2 separate regions of the Homo sapiens genome follow, and region 2 is linked to region 1. Evidence: promoter capture Hi-C in 16 types of primary human blood cells and fetal thymus (Javierre and others, 2016). All regions are on one chromosome and are shown on one strand. Each heading gives the region's core, a stretch centred on a gene start or on the middle of the fragment in contact. The rest is flanking DNA. Distances are from core to core; before and after follow the strand shown. Region 1 holds the start of ZNF672 (zinc finger protein 672). Region 2 overlaps PGBD2 (piggyBac transposable element derived 2).

Region 1 (3,479 bases), core at 676-3,175:
GCAGGAATGTGATACAATCAGAACTTTGGGGAGATTCATCTGGTAGGTTCACAGCTGTTATCTCCAACGTCTAGAATACTACCTGGCATATAGTAGACCTTCCATAAACATTTTGAGTATTTACAGAACCACATTAAGAGTTGTCATTTATTGATGTAGATGTGTAGAGAAATAAAACCATTTGGATGTGATATTTTTAATTGACAAATATACACATAACTTCATCCTTGAACTTTCTTTCACTACCCTCCATCTTCCTGTTACAATTATCATCCCCCACTGTGATGACTTCCATAACATAGGAAACCTAAATCCAGCTTCCTGTTCTTTCCCCCCATTGTTTGAGTTTTTCCCTCCAAAGCTACACAGAAGAAAGTCATCTAATCCAGTCCTCTTTCACATGAAAGTTTGTTAGAATTTGTGTACAGTCATTATGTGCACAAAAAATGTTTCTCTTTCTAGGTTAAATATCCCCAGCCCCTTTAATTATGTGACCACCCTAGTCACCATCCTCTTCATGTCTCTGGGATTAGCCAAGTGTGTCAGTGTCCTTAAAAACATGACATCAGTACTGAGCAATGAGTCCAGAAATGTCTAAATTAGTACATTTCTCTGGCTTAAAGACTCTGGAAATATCCTCAACTAATCATTCTCTATATAATACTACCTTATCTGTGTATGATTCTTTACAATAAAAATATATATACTTCAAGCGCATTTTCCATGTCTCTCTCAATGTTATCCCTTCCTGGTTCAGGCCCTGATCACTCCAGACCTGCATCCTGTGTCTTGCTTTTCAGCTTTCTTGCCTGCTGCTACCAGATTTGTCTTCCTTAATCCGTGTTGTCATATGCGGGTCAGCAAACACTCATTGATCATCTGTGGCGTGCTGGCCCTCTGCTCATGCTTCAAGGGATCAATTGTTCATGAGTAGGACAAGGCCTGTCCCTTAAGCTATGGGGGAACAGTATTCATCTGACTATAACAACAGTATCAACATGCGGGAGGTTGCGCTGCAGCATAGATATGTCCCCAGGACTGAGGACAGAGAGGGGCATTCTAGCATAGGTTTATGGAGATGGCATTTGACTAAGGTTTTACAAATTAAAACAGAGAAGAGGGTAAGAGTTTTCCAGGCCAAGCATGGCAGGTCGAAGTACACTAATTAGGGGACCCCCTGAGCAGAGCTCAGAAGAGTGGTACTAAGTGACCTCCAAAGGAAGATTACAGCAGTAAAGGACCTTGAGGGCCATCCCTGGGCGTCTGTTCTGATGATATAGGCACACTAAAGGATGGCCAGGTTCCCAAAATGCATTTCCGGAAAGGAATACTAGTAGCATTTCCTAGTAGAAGACATTAGGGTCAACATTTGGACAGGCAGTTCAACCAGGAAGCTCATGGAGAGGCAGCTGGCAAGCCGACCAGGAGTAACCCCTATCCCTGGCATTGCGACTTTGGGCGTATCATTAACTTGTGGGGTCCTTACCTAAAATACAGGATAAATGCTCATATTTCCCCTGGCAGGGTTGTGGTGAGGGTTGAGAGATAATAGCTATCCAGTCTGGCCTCACTTAATAAGAAGGCGCTAACTTAACTACGGGGATGGCTGCCGCGGCCCCGTCCGCGCCGGGCACCGGCTACCGCGCCGGAAGCACCGAAGGGTACACCTGTCTGTGTCCCGCCAGCGGCCGCGGGAAGAGCTGCTGGAAGACTAGACGGTGGACCGCCTAGCTCCCGGGACTCCGCGGCTGGGGGCTGAGGCGCGCGCAGGGATCGGCGCCCTTTCCTCTGATTGGGCGGGACGAGGCCCAGGGGTGGGCCAACAGACAAAGCGGGAGGCAGGAATTGGTTAAGCCAGAAGAGAGGGCGGGGCCTTGGCCCGCGCGGGAGGCGGGAGTGGAGTCCCCCCGCAGGCTTTCTCTTTTAGCCCCGCCTGCTTCCCGGCTCCAGCTGGGGCCGGAGAGGCTGAGTGGTTGGTACGCTGCTCGCTGGCCTCCCAGTCTTCCCAGCAACCGGTGACACTGCCCGCGCCAGACTGACCACTAGCCGACGCGGGCGAGAGGGACAGGAGCGTGACCTCCCCATCCCGAGGGGCCGGACGCTCGGGCGCCTCCCCGCTCCCCCCACTCGGAGGCCGCGCGCGCCGTTAGCCCCTTCCTCGCTCCCCCGCCCCAGTCCCGCAGTCCGGGAGGCGGGGGTCGGCAGCCGGCTGAGTGGGAACCGCGCGGTGTCTGAGGAGGCAGTCGGCGACCGGTGAGGGGACTGAAGGGCAGGGGAGGGCAAGGGTGGCTCGGGGCAGCAGTCCTCAGCTGTGGCTAGTCTTCTCCCATCTGCCTCGGGCGACTGGTGTCTGCGGCGGTCGGGAGCGCCGCCCGGGCTGCGAGTGACGCGGGGATACTGCGGGGCGAGCGATTGGCCGGACACGTCCGCGCGGCCTGCTCCTCCCAGGCCTTCCCCTCCGCCTGTCCTCGCTGGTCCGCCTCGGGTGACCTTTTCGGGGCTGGCGTCACCACGACAAACGTCGCCAGGCTGAGCCGACTTAAGGGGGCAACGGCCGCCACCGGGTTCTGGCAGCGTTAAACGTTCCCCACTACGTTTTTGGTGCCCGGTCTCGCCCTCCAAGTCGGCTGGCGCCACGGGCAAGGGGCTAGGGTAGGCTCGGGGTTGGGAAGGGGCTCGCTCAAAGAAAGTTTGCCCAGCAACTTGTGACGCGCGCCGACTGAGGCGCCCCAGGATTGGCTGCGCTGCTGTGGGCCACGGAAAGCGACCTGTTCAGGTGCCGTGTTCCGCATTCGGCGAATAGTTGTGCTTCGCTCTTAAGTACCAGGCACCAAGTCCCCAGATGAGTAGCCAGCTTCCCTTCTTTCATCTTGGAGCCCACAGTTCGCGCAAGTGGAGCTATGGAAGGCCCATGCTGTGCTGTTCTAATCATGTGAGGGATTCTTAGGGGTTGAGGGGGAAGGACTGAAAACGGCTGCAGACCGTTTAGGATGCCTGGAGTGGAGACAGGAGTTAAGCCCCTTACTCAGAGTCGCTCTTAAGAACTGCCCAGGGCCGGGCACAGTGGCTCATGCCTGTTATCCTAGCACTTTGGGAGGCCAAAGTGGGAGGCTCTCTTGAGCTCGGGAGTTCAAGACCAGCCTGGGCAACATGGTGAGAACCCTCGTCTCTACAAAAAAAATAATGATAATAATAATTAGCCGGGTGTGGTAGCACCTGCTCATAGTCCCAGCTCCGCAGGAGGCTGAGGCTGGAGGGTTGCTTGAGTCCAGGAGGGCGAGGCTGCAGTGAGACAGTGATCAAATCACTGCATTCCAAGCTGGGTGACAGCAAGACCCTGTCTCAAAAAACAAACAAACAACAACAACAAGAAGGACTGTCCTAGGCAGAGTAAATCCTAAGCACCGGGCAACCGCAATTCTCAGTGTTAGCAATTTTTTTTTTTTTTTTTTTTTTTTGAGACGGAGTCTTGCTCTGTC
Region 2 (3,699 bases), core at 313-2,812, 81 kb after region 1:
ACGAACTTGATGCAAGTGATAGGTTTGCCAAGGTCAGACCTCTCATCATCCGGATGAACTGCAATTTCCAGAAGCATGCACCCTTGGAAGAGTTCTACAGCTTTGGCGAGTCTATGTGTGAGTACTTTGGGCACCGGGGGTCCAAGCAGCTGCACAGGGGGAAGCCTGTGCGACTTGGCTACAAGATTTGGTGTGGGACAACCAGCAGAGGCTACTTGGTGTGGTTTGAGCCCTCACAGGGCACACTGTTTACCAAGCCAGACAGGAGCTTGGATCTAGGAGGCAGTATGGTAATAAAATTTGTGGATGCGCTTCAGGAGCGTGGTTTTCTGCCATATCACATATTTTTTGACAAGGTTTTCACAAGTGTTAAACTGATGTCCATTTTGAGGAAAAAGGGGGTGAAAGCCACAGGAACTGTTCGTGAGTACAGGACTGAGCGATGTCCCCTAAAAGACCCCAAAGAACTGAAAAAAATGAAGAGGGGTTCATTTGATTACAAAGTCGATGAGAGTGAGGAGATCATCGTGTGCCGCTGGCACGATAGCAGCGTGGTCAACATTTGCTCCAATGCTGTGGGCATAGAGCCAGTGAGGCTGACCAGTCGTCACTCTGGAGCAGCTAAAACGCGGACTCAGGTCCACCAGCCATCACTGGTGAAGCTGTATCAGGAGAAGGTGGGTGGCGTTGGTAGGATGGATCAGAATATTGCCAAGTACAAGGTGAAGATCCGAGGCATGAAGTGGTACTCAAGCTTTATTGGCTATGTCATTGATGCTGCCCTCAACAATGCATGGCAGCTGCATAGAATCTGCTGCCAAGATGCCCAGGTGGACCTCCTTGCCTTCCGGAGATACATTGCCTGTGTGTATCTGGAGAGCAATGCTGACACAACATCTCAAGGGAGGCGAAGCAGGCGGTTGGAGACTGAGAGCCGCTTCGATATGATTGGGCACTGGATTATCCATCAGGACAAGAGGACCCGGTGTGCCCTCTGCCACTCACAGACCAACACCCGGTGTGAGAAGTGCCAGAAGGGTGTCCATGCCAAATGCTTCAGGGAGTACCACATCCGGTGACATCATGAGACATGCTTCTTTGGTTTATAATGAGATGTTTACAGTTAAATACAGATGGCAGTTGAGCACTTCTGTTTTGTGTTGGAAAAAAGACCTGAATTTCTAATGACTTGATTTTCTATTTTCTCCCTACCCACAATACAGTTATCTTTTTTATTGTGTTGTGTTATGCCTACATGTGATATAAATTAATATTTATATTCATTTATATTTATATTTTTGAACTTATTTATTTAAAGTTATGGATCACTTTTTATTCAAATAAAAGTTGTGCTTTGGGGTATATTTGAATCCTAGCAAGAATAATCAAAGGAAAACTTGCAAGAACAGTAAGAAGACTTTACCATTGCATGCCATGGTTTATAATCTAAGATAGGCAATAGTGTATAAATATCATGTAAATGTGATGGATTTCTTAATCATATTTATTTCATATTAATCCAAGTTTATCAAACTTTTGAGGGATAATCTGCCTTGTATTTAGTCAGAGGGCTAGAGGTGCAGATTTCATATTTTCTTAATGAAAATATTTTCCTAATACACATATATCAATGTGAGATTCATTTTTGTAAAAAAAATTATTTTTTTAATTTTGTGGGTACATAGTAGGAGTGTATTTTTATGGGTTACATGAGATATTCTGATACAAACATGCAATGTATAAAAATCACATCAGGGTAAATGGGGTATCCATCTTGTCAAACACTTGTCCTTTGTGTTTCAAACAATCCAATTATACTGTTAGTTATTTTAAAATGTGCAATTAAATTATTTTTAACTATATTCACCCTGTTGTGCTAGCAAATACTAGGTCTTACTCATTCTTTCTATTTTTTCATACCCATTAACTATTCCCACTCTCCCCCACCCCCTAACTACCCTTTCCAAGCTCTGGTAACCTTCTTTCCACTCTGTGTGTCCATGAGTTCAATTGTTTTCATTTTTAGCTCCCACAAATAAGTGAGAACATCTGAAGTTTGTCTGTCTTTGCTTGGCTTATTTCACTTAACATAATGACCTCCAGTTCCATTCATGTTGTTGCAAATGACTGAATATCATTTTTTTGTGGCTAAATATTAATCACACTTCATTGTGTATATGTACATTTTCTTTATCCATTCTTCTGTTGATGGACACTTAGGTTGCTCCCAAATCATGACTATTGAGAATAGTGCAGAAAATAAACATGAGTTCAGATCTTTCTTCAATATACTGATTTTTTTTTCTTTTGGATGTATACTTAGGAATGGGATTCCTGAATCATATGGTAGCTCTATTTTTAGTTTTTGAGGAAGCTTCAAACTGTTCTCCATAGAGGTTGTACTAATTTACATTCCCACCAGCAGTGTTCAAGGGTTCCCTTTTCTCCACATCCTTGCCAGCATTTGTTATTGTCTGTCTTTTGGATTACAGCCATTTCTGCCCGGATGAGATATCTCAATGTAGTTTTCACTTGCATTTTTCTGTTGATCAGTGATGTTGAGCACTTTTTTTATACCTGTTTGCCATTTGTACCTTTTGTTTTTATTTTGAGATGGAGTTGCCTTGTCACCCAGGCTGGAATGCAGTGGTGCGCAATCTCGGCTCACTGCATCCTCTGTCTCCTGGGCTCAAGTGATTCTCCTGCCTCAGCCTCCCAAGTAGCTGGGATTACAGGCACCCACCACCACACCCGGCTAATTTTTCTATTTTTAGTAGAGATGGTGTTTCACCATGTTGGCCAGGCTGGTCTTGAACTCTTGAGCTCAAGTGATTTGCCCACCTCAGCCTCCCAGTATATATCTTTTTTTTTTCTTAATTATACTTTAAGTTCTGGGGTACATGTGCAGAATGTGCAGTTTTTGTTACATAGGTATACACGTGCCATGGTGGCTTGCTGCACCCATCAACCTGTCACCTACATTAGGTATTTGTCCTAATGCTATCCCTCCCCTAGCCCCCCACCCCCTGACAGGTCCTGGTATGAGGTTCCCCTCCCTATGTCCATGTGTTCTTATTGTTCAACTCCCACTTATGAGTGAGAACTTGCGATGTTTGGTTTTCTGTTCTTGTGATAGTTTGTTGAGAATGATGGTTTCCAGCTTCATCCATGTCCCTGCAAAGGACATGAACTCATCCTTTTTTTATGGCTGCATAGTATTCCATGGTGTATATGTGCCACATTTTCTTTAGTCTATTATTGATGGACATTTGGGTTGGTTCCAAGTCTTTGCTATTGTGAATAGTGCTGCAATAAACATATGTGTGCATGTGTCTTTGTAGTAGAATGATTTATAATCCTTTGGGTATATACCCAGTAATGAGATTGCTGGGTCAAATGGTATTTCTAGTTCTAGATTCTTAAGGAATCGCCACACTGTCTTCCACAATGGTGGAACTAATTTACGGTCCCACTAACAGTGTAAAAGCGTCCCTATTTCTCCACATCCTCTCCAGCATCTGTTGTTTCCTGACTTGTTAATGATCGCCATTCTAACTGGTGTGAGATGGTATCTCATTGTGGTTTTGATTTGCATTTATCTAATGACCAGTGATGATGAACATTTTTTCATATGTCTATTGGCTGCATAAATGTCTTCTTTTGAGAAGTGTCTGTTCATATTCTTTGCCTACTTTTTGA

Evidence for each region. Contacts are between HindIII fragments. The CHiCAGO score rates a contact against its expected background, and 5 or more counts as called.
Region 2: a contact is called between a fragment that was not itself captured here and the fragment with the promoter of ZNF672 in region 1, in 4 of 17 cell types (total CD4 T cells, erythroblasts, naive CD4 T cells and 1 more). The highest score is 7.2, in total CD4 T cells.

What each region holds. Positions count from the first base shown.
Region 1 is chr1:248,836,299-248,839,777 of GRCh38, forward strand. It overlaps ZNF672 (zinc finger protein 672), which reads left to right and starts at 1,926. Exons shown (of 4, transcript NM_024836.3): 1 at 1,926-2,253. RefSeq lists enhancers at 1,860-2,361, 2,362-2,861, 2,559-2,828, 3,169-3,248 and a silencer at 1,869-2,268. The HindIII fragment of the contact is 11,934 bases long and covers 1-3,479 here.
Region 2 is chr1:248,917,285-248,920,983 of GRCh38, forward strand. PGBD2 (piggyBac transposable element derived 2) reads left to right here. Exons shown (of 3, transcript NM_170725.3): 3 at 1-1,862. The coding sequence ends at 1,079. Among named protein-coding and RNA genes, the nearest start is that of PGBD2, 13 kb to the left of the region's middle. The HindIII fragment of the contact is 1,620 bases long and covers 753-2,372 here.